Linked DNA regions of Homo sapiens: region 2 is linked to region 1. Evidence: promoter capture Hi-C in 16 types of primary human blood cells and fetal thymus (Javierre and others, 2016). All regions are on one chromosome and are shown on one strand. The core of a region is centred on a gene start or on the middle of the fragment in contact, and the rest is flanking DNA. Distances in the headings are between cores, read along the strand shown. Region 1 holds the start of DIAPH2 (diaphanous related formin 2). Region 2 overlaps DIAPH2 (diaphanous related formin 2).

The links. Contacts are between HindIII fragments. The CHiCAGO score rates a contact against its expected background, and 5 or more counts as called.
Region 2: a contact is called between a fragment that was not itself captured here and the fragment with the promoter of DIAPH2 in region 1, in 1 of 17 cell types (total B cells). The highest score is 7.1, in total B cells.

Annotation. Positions count from the first base shown.
Region 1 is chrX:96,682,042-96,689,439 of GRCh38, forward strand. DIAPH2 (diaphanous related formin 2) reads left to right here and starts at 2,801. Exons shown (of 27, transcript NM_006729.5): 1 at 2,801-3,149. The coding sequence starts at 3,018. RefSeq lists enhancers at 2,589-3,304, 3,305-4,018. The HindIII fragment of the contact is 2,760 bases long and covers 1,992-4,751 here.
Region 2 is chrX:97,563,880-97,570,815 of GRCh38, forward strand. The region is part of intron 26 of DIAPH2 (diaphanous related formin 2); the gene reads left to right. It overlaps DIAPH2-AS1 (DIAPH2 antisense RNA 1), which reads right to left and starts at 656. Exons shown (of 3, transcript NR_125391.1): 1 at 501-656. The HindIII fragment of the contact is 4,563 bases long and covers 1,351-5,913 here.

The sequences.
Region 1 (7,398 bases), core at 1,551-4,050:
CACCAATTTCTTAACCACAGGGCTTCTGCACATGCTATTGTCATTTCCTTTGCCTGAATGCCCTTCACTGTCCTTATTTGCCTTGTAATTGCTTAATACATTTTTAATATCTTTCCCAAGGTTGGGCGCAGTGGCTCATGCCTGTAATCCCAGCACTTTGGGAGGCCAAGGCAGTCGGATCACCTGAGTTCGGGAGTTTGAGACCAGCCTGACCAATATGGAGAAACCCAATCTGTACTAAAAATACAAAATTAGCCAGGCGTGGTGGCACATGCCTGTAATCCCAGCTACTCGGGAGGCTGAGGCAGGAGAATCGCTTGAACCTGGGAGGCGGAGGTTGCCGTGAGCTGAGATTGCGCCATTGCACTCTAGCCTGGGCAATAAGAGTGAAACTATATATATCTTTCCCGATAGCATGAAAGCTCCCTAAGACCAAACCATGTCTGTCTTGTTCACCACTGTACTCATGATGCCTTGCACAGTACCTCACACTTAGTAGGCTGCCAACAAATGTTAACTTGAATCAGACCCTTAAGACTCAGCTCAAACATCATCTTCTTTGGGAAGGTGTCCCTGAGCCTCTGACACTCCGATAGTTACCTCTTTCATGTGCTTCAAAGGCTTCCTGTTCATATCTGTTATAGTGCAGTGCAGTTCTTTAATGGTCTGTCTCTCCCAGTAGGCTCTGAAGTTCTAAAAGGCGGAAACTGTGTCATCTTCATCCTTCTTACTCATGACACTCTGTATCACCTAGTGTACTCTAAGGAGCTGAAGAAATGTCTACTGGGCAGATTACTGAACCATGTTTGCGCTTGGAGGGCCCTCAGCTATGGACCACACCTATGGCACAAACAGGAATTACGCATTGGCTAAACAGGTCATGTCTTTCTGAAGCACCCATTTTGACTCAATTTTTCAGGAGAGGAGACATTTATATAAATTGTGTTTGTGTGTGTGTGTATGTAGTGAGTTGAATTCAAAATATACACTAAACTTTAAGTAAGTAAAACGGGAACTTCAACAAAGCAAAGTTACCATGGGGCTCCTTGAGCACCCTGTTTGGGAGCATGTATTCCCTCTTCTCTGCTGTCCTTTGGTAGCTTGCCACCTTAGGAGTAGAGAAGTCACACCTCCATGATTAAAAAGAAAGTCAGCCGGGCACGGTGGCTCACGCCTGTAATCCCAGCTCTTTGGGAGGCCAAGGCAGGCGGATCACCTAAGCTCAGGAGTTTGAGAGCAGCCTGACCAACACGGAGAAACCCCATCTCTACTAAAAATGCAGAATTAGCTGGGCGTGGTGGTGGGTCCCTGTAATCCCAGCTACTTGGGAGGCTGAGGCAGGAGAATCGCTTGAACCCGGGAGGTGGAGATTGCGGTGAGCTGAGATTGCACCTTTGCACTCCAGCCTGGGCAACAAGAGGGAAACTCTGTCTCAGAATTAAAAAAAAAAGAAAGTTAATGACAATGACAAAGCTAGAATTAAAGCTGTTTTCAGATATCTGGTGTTCTTTTCATTCTACTGCCCAAGTTAGCTGTCTCCTTGCACCTATAGCATGGTCAAATGCATCCTAATGCACTCTCAATAAATATGTTCAGATACAAATTCCATTCAGCATATTAAATTTAGGCCGAAGGGGAGAAGGTCAAAAGGAGTCATAGTCTGGAGATATCTTCAGTAATAGGTGTATGGCATGTTTATAGATTTCATATTTAAATTTACTTTATAGGTAGCTTTCCTAGCATATGTGCTCCTATTCTATGATGGTGGTTCATTCAAATCCTACCCACCCCGTCTAATGTTCTCAGTGTGTACCTTTACTTTTAAAGGGCATCATTTAAAGAGGATGGAAGAAATACAGTGTGGGTACTATATTTTGTCCTGAGGACAAAATGCTAGGTATGACGCAAGGACTTAAGACTATCGTCCCAACAGTGCCCTGCTGCTGCACAAAAACACCTAGCATTTGTCTAGGGATTTTCATTTACAACAAAGCTTTGACACACATGATCTTATTCACTCCCCACAACAACTCTAAACTAGTTCGGGAACCTGAAAATAGCACTCAATTCAATTGCTAGCTGTATGTAAGTGTTTTGGTTATAGAACCTAACAATCCCCTAGGGATTAAGCGGTGGGCGCCTGCTGCTTCAACAACCCTGCAGCAAGGGAATAAAGGAACAACTGTATTTCTTCGGTCACAACGTAATCACGACAACAGAAAGCACTCACTCTTTCCACTCTGACCCACACACAGTCTGTCGAGGCAATTAATCAGCACTCCCGGTGGTTTTCCTATAGGATGCCAGTTCCCTTGCCAATCAAGTCTTTCCACAGACTGTAGCAGGACCACACCCCCGGAGAGGCCTCAGGGAGGGAAGGTGCTGTGGCCCACAGAAGTGAAAGCTGATACTCAGGTTGACCCGCCAGTGAAACTTACAGGCGGATCTTCCCGGGCCTCAGTTTCCCCATCTCTAAAATGGGCTACCCTTCCTTTCTCTTGACTAGTTCCCTCCCTGTTCTCGCTGGGCCACTAGGAAGTGAAATCAGTGCCTAACCGCAGCTGAAAGTGCTCTGTTAGGCTCCAGTCACCGCGCCGGGCATGCTCAGTAGCTGGGGCCGGCTCGGCTGCGGGAGTAGGAAGCAGCTTTGCGCGCCCGGGCGGCCGATGCGGGCACTTTGAAGAATCACGTGTGTTGAGGCCCTCTTAAAGAGATAGGCACCTACTTTTCCCTCCACCCTAAACACCGCCCTGAGGGCGGCGGCGACCGTGGTAATTGCAACTGCTCAGGGGCAGGGCTTGCCCCAGCGCCGAGTAGTGGCAACGGCGTGGTTGCGTCGGGGGTGCCTGGGAGCCTGGAGTCCCGGGGGCCTGAAATCGGCAGCTTCCCGGGCAGACACTCTCTCCCTCAGGAAGAGGTGCCGCCGAGTCAGCGCGGGGCAGTGTGAGCGCCCCGAGGTGCTTTCTCAGTTGAGGAGAGGTGGGGTTACAGGGCACAGGTGACAGGGCCGGAGAAAGATGGAGCAGCCCGGGGCGGCGGCGTCGGGAGCGGGAGGCGGCAGCGAGGAACCCGGTGGGGGCCGGAGCAACAAGCGGAGCGCGGGGAACCGGGCCGCCAATGAAGAGGAAACGAAAAACAAACCCAAATTGGTGAGTGCTCCCGCAGCCCCCGCCGGCCTTAGGGACAGGGAGAGCCCCGGGATCCTCCTGCCATTGAACACGGGGGCACCCGGGGCCCCCTCCCAAGGATGACCGCGACCTCGCTGTGCAACTCGGGGAGCCGCTAAAGGAGTGGCCACGCCGAGGCGCGGAGACGGCGTGGGGGCGGAAGAGCACCCCCTTCTCTACTTAACCCCTTTCTCACTCTTGTCAGCCCGGGAGGCGGTGCGGGAAGGAGAAAGGCCCAGCCCCAACTTGGGGACACCCCGAGTACTGGGTAGGGCTGTTGTTTGTCTAACTTGTGGGCGCAAACCTTTGCGCGATTCCATTCTCCTCCCACTTCTTGTTAGTTGCTGTTTTGCCTCCTAACGCGTAGGGTCCGGGGCAGGGGAACCTCCCTCCTTTTTATTCCAAGTCCTTGGGAGCCCACCTACAGCTTCGCAAATCAAGAAGAACACTATTTATGCTCCCAGTCTTTCTACTTTACCAGAAATCTCAGGAAGAGGCGCCTACGTGCCTTTTTCCTCCTCCTTGCCTCTCTCCATGTGCTCTCCCAAGAAATGTTTCTTTGGAAGGGTGGGGGCGCGTGGGAGTTTGAGGCTGGGTGAGGTACCACCAACTGTCGAGTGTGTGTAATAGGCATAGTCATACAGTACTTCCACTTAGTTGATTAAGAACGCTCAAAAGCAGTAGGCACAAACTGTGCAAATCTCACCGTGCTGATAGTGTGAACCGATGGTAGCAGTCCATTTCCTGCCACTGAATGTGCAGAGGAATGAAATCGATGAGGCCTGGTATTGCATTGGGAAATACTGGAGTTTCCTCAGCTCATCAGAAGGGTTCCGCTTTTTGTAAACTTTCTAATTTGGGTGGTGTGAGGGGAAAGGGTTTTCCTGTACAAATTCAGCAGATACTCCTTAGAGCTGTATTCTTAGTCCAGATCCGAAGCACAAGCCACATGTTGAATGTATAGATTTCAGCTTTAACTACCAACTTGATTATAATAGACAAGGAGAGGGTGACATATAAATAAAGCCGTTTCTTATGGCATCTGGCCATTTGGTTTGGATCCAGTACAAAACTGTGGTTTAATCAGTGATTAAAAATTTAAGTAAAAAGTTAACTGATAGTTTCCACAAATGGTTTGGTACGTCTAGCAAGAATCTGCCACTTTTAAGAAGTATGCTTTCGAGAAAAAAAAAAACACTTATCTCTGTTAGTAGTAACACCTTGATTATATTCTTCTCTTCCCTTTAGCCATTTGTCCTGATTCATCTTTTATGTTTTACTTGCTTTGACAAGGTAACTAGATAGTTATGAGATCGTATCATTTTCAGTTCCTAGCTAACTTCACTGTTCCGGTTCCTAGCTAACTTCACTGTTCCGTGTTGAACATAGCTTGATACGGTAGAACAAGATTTGAATCCAAGAGTTTGTTAATATTAACATGAATTTTCTTTTTTTGCTCAAACATAACTTTTGAGCCTTACGTGATTTTACAAGCAGATGTGTCAGAGTTAACAAAAACAAATTTAGGAAGACATTGTGGCACATTTTAAGGCAAGCAAGTTGACCAAACAGTAAGATTTAGTAAGCTTTTCAGGAAAGAATTCATCTGGGATTCTTAGAAGTTTGCTAGTAAGATACAACTTTACTTAGATGAAATTTTTTTATTTTGAGTATTATGTTAATAATCTCTGAACTAGTCCTTAATTTGTGTGTGTATATGAGTGTAAAGGAGTTGTGGTATGGGATTATAAAAGAGAGCCATATGGTGATAGAAATTATTTGTGTAGGTGATCTTGGGGCATAGGGGTTCTTAAACTCCTGAAATTGTATGAAAATATTTGAGTGTATATGGGTACATTTATTTTTCTGGGCCCCATGGCTTTCATCAGTTTTTCAAAGGCATCCATTACCTATAGAAGAGTAAGAACTATGGCATTACAAAAGATAGAAAGTAAAGGAAAGAATAGTTGATTCCACTCTAAGTTACTGAGTAGGGAAGAAGGGGAAATGGCATTGACCACACAGGTGATTGATATTGAAACGAATTCTTCTAGTGGTAAAAAAGAAGTTAACTACTCAATGTCTACATAGATTAAAATTTCCGCTACAGAGGAAAATTAATTCAGTCGCTCCAGTATAATGGATTCATAAGGTATAAGGCTTGTGTAGTTTGGTTGTTTTCATTTAGTTCCTCAGAATTCTGGAAAAATGGAAATGGAACACATATTTTCTTTTCTTTTTTTTTTTTTGGGACGAAGTCTCGCTCTGTTGCCATGGCTGGAGTCCAGTGGCGCGATCTTGGCTCACTGCAACCTCTGCCTCCCGGGTTCAAGTGATTCTCCTGCCTCAGCCTCCTGAGTAGCTGGGATTACAGGCACGTGCCACCACACCCAGCTAATTTTTGTATTTTTAGTAGAGACGGGATTTCACCATGTTGGTCAGCCTGGAAAGCAGATTTTCTATAGAGAGGAACTGCTTTCATTTATATCCTCAACTTTTTAATGAGTATTAGTGAGAAATTTTTCAGAGTGGCATTTCAACACTATAATGATTTCTATTTAAGATTACTTAAATAAAAATTTAATGGAATTCACTTCAGTTTTTTTCATATAAGCATCCTCATAATGACCCTTTTGTTTTGATTCTTTTAAAATAAGGCATTCCTGTCTTGGACTCATCACATTTTGAATAATGCATTAGTAGTAGAGTTTTGGATTTTATGTAACTATTTTGGTTAGGCCCAGATTGCAACATGTCATCAAACAGCATGAATCTTAGATTAATTTGTAATTTGATGTCAACCATGGAATGCATTTTGTTAAATTGAGTAGAAGAGAAAGCTCTATAAATGTTGTGAAGGAACTACATCTTGAATCCTACTTATTTAAGGCAGTGACTTAACCATTAAGAGAGGCCAATGTTGATGCAGAACACCGCACCCCACACCACACGGTAGTGTAGAGTGACCTAACAGTATTTGATGTTTTTGCATTTTTGACTTTGTGTTCCTGCATAATTTCTGAAGCCTTTGGTTCTTCAAACAGTAAAGTCAAATTAGTTAATTTTTCTGGTTATTATGTAACTTCCTATTTGGTTATTTGTTTACAACTGGATAAATTATGTTTTTATTTATTTATTTATTTTGAGACGGAGTCTCGCTCTGTTGCCCAGGCTGGAGTGCAGTGGTGTGATCTCGGCCCACTGCAACCTCTGCCTCCTGGGTGCAAGCGATTCTCCTGCCTCAGCCTCCCTAGCAGCTGGGATTACAGGTGTGCACCACCAGGCCCAGCTAATCTTTTTTGTATTTTTGTAGAGACGGGGTTTCACCATATTGGCCAGGCTGGTCTTGAATTCTTGACCTCAAGTGATCCACCCACCTCCACCTCCCAAAGTGCTAGGATTACAGGCTTGAGCCACTGCACCCAGTCTTGATTTTTAATGATAAGGTATGAGCAACAATGATTTCATTTATGCAATACAGGTTTACTGAGTACCTACTGTGTGCTAGGCATAATTCTAAGGGTTGGTGATACAAAGATACTTGTAGTCTACTGAGACAGACAGGGAAGTTAATTAATGCTTAAAATGCAATGTGAGCCAGACGTGGTAGCTTGTGCCTATAATCCCAGCTACACAGGCTGCTAAGGCAGGAGGATTTCTTGAGCTCAGGAGTTTGAAGCTGCAGTGAGCTGTGACTATACCACTGTATTACAGCCTTGGCGACAGAGAACCCATCTCTTTAAGGAAAAAAAAAAAAGCAGTGTGATAAGTTGCTATAGGAATATGCATGGTTGGGGGTGGTCATGGAGAGGCATCTACGTAGAATTGCATGCTTGAGTAAGAAAAGGCTTATCGCAGTAGGTGACATTTGCAGCTGAAGGCTGAAGAAAATAGGTGAGGGAAAGGCATTCTAGGTTGAAAAAACAACATATACAAAGGTAAACAGATAAGGGAGCATATCCAATAAAGAAAGTTCACTTAGATGAATATGGCTGAAACAAAGGGTACACATGGTAGACTTGCTAGAAAAGAGACGGGGTCCGGATCATGATGGATCTTGTATGCCATGTTAGAGTTTCAACTTCTTTCTGAAAGTAGGGGTAACCCATTAAAGAGATTAAGGCGGAGAATGACCTGATCAGATTTGGGTTTCAGAAAAAAAAGTACTTTGGAGAATTTCTTGGAAAAGCATGCTAGAATGGAGGCAGGAAGACCATTTAGAAGGAGCAGA
Region 2 (6,936 bases), core at 2,382-4,881, 880 kb after region 1:
ACTCTGCAGATCAGTCTCAGGAAAGAGATTGGCATCCTAACAGAAGACATTCTACTTCCTTAGTACAAGATTAGGGTCCTCCAGACAGGATGAATTATTGCAAGTAATTCTGATTGCTGCTTCTGTTTAAAAACAGGCTGCTGCATCAGGCTAGAGAAGGCCCTTTGTAATGAAGTAAAAATGGGTGAAAATTCCCTGTTATGAAAGACCAAAACAATTAGTGCTCTTCTCTTGGAAAATATAATAGTTGAGTGAGAAGCTTCAAAGAGCTGCCTGGCCCTTCCACTCCTTTTGCCATGTGAGGACACAATGTTCATCCATTCTACAGTGTAAGGATGCAGAGGCTATGCTCAGTGTTTTTGAAATCAAGAAATCATAAACATTTGGATAGGATAAATGCAAACCTATTTACCAAACCCAAGCATGTTGAAACCTTAATCTGTTCAGGCTGCTCTACCTGAGACTGGGTAATTTGTAAACGACAGAAATTTATTGCTTACATTTCTAGAGGCTGGGAAGTCCAGGATCAAGGTGCTGTCAGATTTAATGTCTGATGAGTGTTTGCTCTCTGCTTCCAAGATGACACTTCTTGCTGTATCCTCACATTGTGAAATGGACAAACGCTGTGTTCTCGCATAGCAGAAGGAGTAGAAGGGCCAGGGAGCTCTCTAAGGCCTCTTTTGTAAGGGCATTAATCCCATTCATGAGGATAGAACCCTTATGACTTAATCACTTCTCCAAAGGTCCCACCTCTTAATACAGCTACAGTAAGAATTAAGTTTCAACATAAATTTTAGAGGACTACAAACACTCAAACCATAGTAAAGGGTATCTTTGAAGCATTGCAGAAACAAATGGGGAAAGGGAAGTACCATACATGACTCACAGAACAACTTATCCTGGAAGTTCTAAAGAAATAGCATGTTTAAAAAGTGAAGTGATTCAGGTCAACTCATGCACTATAGATACATGGTTGCTTTGTAAGAGAAACCAAGGAGGAAAAGCCATCCTTTCTACAAAGCATCCCTTGGTGACTCCCACCAAAAATAGAATCACAAGGCTAAATTGATCATGAATTTGGTATTCTTCATGGCTTTAGTTTTAAAAATATTTTTAAAGTATTAAAAGGATTAGTATTGAAGATAGTAATACTGGTAATGGTTTGCAAAGCTTCTTGTTCTTGTCCTACTTTGGACTCCACCTGCATTTACACAAAGTACCTTCCTGTCAAAGTCATGGACCTAGAAATCCAGGCTTAGTGCTTGTGGATGCCATCTGGTATGGGGGTCAGCTTACGGACTTTGAAACTCCACAGATGTCCACCACTTATTAACTACATGATCTTATGCAAGCTTTTTAATTTCTTGGAGGCTTACTCTTCTCATTTGTAAAATGGTTTTATAATACCTATCATACGGGATCCTTTTAAGAATGATTGACGCAATATATGCAAGTCACTTAACACAGTGCATGGTATCCACTAAATGCTAAGTAAACAGCAGCTCTTACTATTGTTGTGAGCTAAGTGAGCTATTTATACAACCCTGGATTCAAAAAGTTGTAATAAATATGGTGGATAAGGTGAGCCCACATTTTCCTAATAAAACTTTAAAAAAGTTTTATGACCATTTTGAGTGTAGCTGGACTTTTAGAAATGTAGACGAAACAGTGAAATGTGTAGTTATGAAATTTAATTTGTTTAGTTATACAGATATATTCAAATTGTAGATGATGCAGAATAATCTCTTCAGGTATGATACTTTGCTTTTCCTCCCCACTATCTCATTTTGTAAAACAATTCTATTGAAACTTCACGCGTATCTCTGACATTGGTGTTTCTAGAAGCACTGGAGCTAATTTTTGTGTCATCTAACAGTTTTCCAGAGCATATTACATTCATGTCCACCTAAGTTTTTAGAGATACAACACTTTAATCTGTGTATCAGAGTATCAATGTCAGGCTTTTTCCGCAAGCCACAAATACTCATTTGCATACCACTAGGTCCATTGGCTTTTCCATTCATCTTGCATGTGTATATTGGTGATCTTCGTTAGGTATTTACTGCAGGGAAATCTTAAGTAATCTTTCAAAGGCTTGTTTACAATGATCTCCAACACTTAGTACTATGACGTCACACCCTGTAAACAATTAATAGGTCTGTGTTAAATTTCATTATCTTAACTGCCTTCCCCAATTTTGTACGTTTACATCATAAGCATCTAAAACCCATATTAAGTTGTTCCAGACTAATGCGTGTTTTCCAGAGAGTACATTATTAAGAATAATTTGGAAAATGTCCCTTGGAATTAAGCACTTGAATGTAAGACATCTTCCTCTTTTTTTCTGCGAGATAACTTGTAGGGAGCAACGGGAAGGTATGCTTTATATTTGTGAGGATAGGAATAGAGATTTTCTTGAAATATTTATCCAATTATATGACTTTAAAATCATGCAAGTTTCTTATTTTTATTCATCGTATATATGTATTAAATGCCAGGATGATCCAAACACATAGAAGGTGAAGTTCCTGCCATTATAGGAATTTTTGGACCTTAGAGAATATCCAATTCCAGAACAATGCATGGAATACTTTGTGGAAAGCATTTGCAGAGAGAAAGCTGTGAGTTGCAGCCCTTGTCCTCAACAACTGACAGCAAATTTGTCAACAAATTTAATTATGTTTATATCAGGCAGAATGTGTTTGAAGGGCCTGCACACGTTTCACATAGGGAAAAGAAAGAGGTGAAGAGAGAAATGTTACATGTAAAAAATTTTACATAGTAAATCATCACATGGAAAAACACATTTTTCACTGGCAAGTAAAGAAATACAACAACAAAGTAACAGGTAGCGACATATATGTATTGTGATGGCTAAGCACTAAGTGAGGTGTTGGAGAAGCTGTAGAGAAACAGGTACAATTTCAAGGTGGTGCCGTTAGGTGACAATTCATGGAAATGTATACATAAAACAATGTTAAGTGAAAGAATTAGATCACAAAAGAGTATATAAACGCTGATTATATCTATAATAATGTGTGTATGTTGACATCTATTGAAAGAGGATTTGAAAGAATGTAAGTTTAATGTTGATTTGAATTTTCTCTCTGTAACAGTGATTTAAATGCATACTAATTTGAAAAGAATACAATGAAAAATGACTCCCCATCACACCCCTAAAACACATAATAACTACACACATCTTGGTAAATAGATTGTGGTAGAATATGATGTTCATTGTTTGTGATGTTGCAACATTATCTATAAATCAAGGACTTAATTGAAGTTGTACTTCCCTTCTTTATCTACTGTAAGTCTGATGAAGCATTTTTTGATCACTGTTTATTATAGTAATGAGAAAAGAATAAATCTTTTCCTTATAAATCCTGACAATCTGCATTTTAAATCCTTGCACAACCTGAATTCTTTGTCTCCACTAAATGAATACAGAAAGTTTAAGCCTGTGATTGCCTTATTTATTCTGCCTCCCTACCTTTCAATAGCTACTCAATAGCTCTTTCTTGACCTTTACCTGTCAGTTAATAGTTGGTACATTGAGATGTGTTTATTAAGTCCAGGCAGCTAAGATTCAGATTTATATGCAGCTAATATGCTGAATGAACTGAAGATCTACTATGTACCACAGATCTTTGCCTGGTACTCTACAAAGGGGACTTCACTTGATCTTGGTAGTAACCATCTGAAGTCTGAACTATTATCCCTATTCTGATGTGACAAAACTAAGCATCAGTTCAGCAGGCAGTCCTCTTCCGAGCCCAGGACAGTGGTCCTTCCCTTGTTCCATTGTGCCTTTTAAGTGGCTAGTCTCAGTGTGTTATAGAGAATAGTATAGTTTTAAACATATAAAATAAATTTGTAGGAAGCAGCATATTTTTAAGGAAGATCTTTTTAAAAAGACAAGTGTGTTGCTTTTTTCCTCATTTAAAAAACTGTATATTGTTGCTATAAAATTTATTTATAAGAGTGGTTGGAGGGAGGCCGAGGTGGGCAGATCACCTGAGGTTGGGAGTTCGAGACAAGCGTGACCAACATGGTGAAACCCCATCTCTACTAAAAAGTACAAAAATTAGCCGGGCATGGTGGTGCGTGCCTGTAATCCCAGCTACTCAGGAGGCTGAGGCAGGAGAATCGCTTGAACCTGGGAGGCGGAGGTTGCAATGAGTGGAGATTGCGCCATTGCATGCCAGCCTGGGCGACAGAACGAGACTCCATCTCAAAAAAAAAAAAAAAAAAAAAAAAGAGTGGTTGGAAATTTTGATACAAAGCAATTCAAAATTATACAAACAATTTGAGTAGAATCCAAACATGAAGCAAGATTTTCTACTACTTTAATAATTTCAATTAAATAAAAGTTAGGAGCTGATAAAACCGTTTGAGGGTTTATTTAAAGGGGAGCATGTTATTGGCATGCTGACCAATAACACTGGGAATGTAATGTATCATGACATGTCAGATAACACAAACAAGGACAGTTTTTGGAAAATCATAAATAACAAAATAGAAGGAGTGTAAAATGGAAGAAGCATCAAGGGGTGGTTGGTACAATAAGATATTAACTCTGAGAAAGTTTTCTAACTCATCACTTAACATTATGAATACTGAATTGGGATGACCACAATACTAGCTTCTGTATGACTCCTTAAATATTGATATTGGAAATGTGCACCACATGATAACCAATATTTTAAGGTGGGGGCAAAATAGCTGCTGGTATGAATCTCTAGAAAGATTAACTTGAAAACTGTCTTGTGTAACAAAAGGAAAGGAGAACATCTGGGAGGAGAAAGGAAATTTCCTAGAAATGGGAAATGTGGCCATAATGTGATTTCTTTCTATAACCCATGTATGCAAAAACATTTATCTCCTTTTACTCTAGTCACACTATGTTTGTGGCTTGCATGAGTAAGAAAGCTAGATGAGGAGATAATTGTTCAGCAAAAGAATTATAGAGTTGAAATCAGTGAAGTGAATGGTATTTTATAGCAAAGAGATCCCTAAAAGTAGGTGGCATAAAGAATAGATGCAAAAAAGTATTGCTTTCTCTTCGAGTTCTAAAGACCTCTGTTGATGACGTTTTGCTCATTTAAATTCCAGAGAATAATTGGAAACAGAGACTTTATGCGACAGAGCTTTCATTTAACTTGTTCACCTGACAGTTGGCTTTGAATGATATTTTATTACCAATCAACCTAAATTAAAATACCCAGCTCACTGTAAAACCCTGCAGACAGTGTCTGGAATGCTAAAACACATACCATATATAAATAAAATTAAGGTAAGGACAAAGATTGACAAAAGCAATGACAGTGAACATTAACATGATATCAGCAGCTTTGAGCTTCTATCAACAATGTGGACCATGATGAAGTTACCAGAGAGGGCAGTATAGATGGATTTTCTAACTTGCATTTATCAGAAGAGATTTTCACTTTTCAATCTTAACTATGTCTTATACCTTTTAATAAAGATGTGGTATCAAACATCGAACATATATGTCTGTACCTACATGTAAATATATATGCATGTGTGTATATGCATAGCCATAGCTATCCATCCATCCATCCCAAAGTTCATCTCTCCAAGGTGCTAGTCCACATAATTGCGTTCAGTTCTTCTCTGGTCTTTGTATAAATGTGTACTTAAGGACTTTGTGGATAGTGCGTGATATAAATATGGTTCAGGCCCATCAAAATGCAGATTATAGGATCCGGTGAACTTTTCCTTACCAAATAACTGAATTCCTGAATGTTGTATTATTATAAAATTACAAAAGTTTCAAACTTACTGCTATTCTCTAATTACTTCTATAGAGTGATTATTATATGGGATCACCAGATGATCATGGTCTGTCATGCTATTGCTATCTTTCTTCATAAATATATAATTTATCAAAGCTTAATTATATTATTATCCAATAAATGAATGATAGAATAATTATGGTTATGTGGTTCATTACGTTATGTCCCATTCTCTGACTGAAGCCTCTCAGTTTCATATCTTTGTTGTGTAGACTATTTATGACAAGTTAAATCTGTTCTCTGGAACTTAGTGTCATCGTCTATTAAAATGAAGGGTTGGATTTCAATTAAATAATTCATAAATTTCCTGTCAGCTCTAAAATTCTATGTTCCATTGATTATCCTCAAACTATTATACAAGTTCATAAGGCCTTCTAATATATATATATATATATATATATATATATATATATATATATATATATTAGAAGATAGATAGATAGATAGATAGATAGATAGATAGATATACTAGAAGGCCTTATGATTAGAAGGCCATATGTGTATATGTATATATACACACACACACATATATATATGTATGTATAGTGTTCAGTTCTTCTCTGGTCTTTGTATAAATATGTTTTATATATATATTTTAAAACACTATATTAATGTGCATGAATTGAGAACTGCTGTGGTATCTAAACTCCTTTCTGCTTGACTCTATGATGAGAGATGAATGAATTTGGAAATATTTAGTCCAAGAAAAGAAAAAGTGTGGGGATAATCAGTCTTCAGGTTTATGATGAATTGTGACTAGCTTTCACTCTCTTGTAAATGATAGACAAAGAGAGAACAAACTGTACCAAATCTCAGAATGCATAATGTGATAGTGCATTAAAAAATGCTGTAGAAGCTGGAGATACTTAGGGAAGGTAGTCATTTGATGCAAAATATCAGTTAATCTCCTCTCTAGTGTGCTTTAAAGCCAGGGAATCTAAAATGGGGGAAGCCAAGGAGGAGTAGAGTTGTTTCTCACTGTTCAACAGGAAGGCACTTTATGTATTTTCTTATATATTAATTATTTCTGAGCTATTTCTCCTAAGAGAAAACCCTTAGATTTGGCCTACAGAAGATGTACTTATCATTGGCCTTTAATGATACAGACATTGCCATT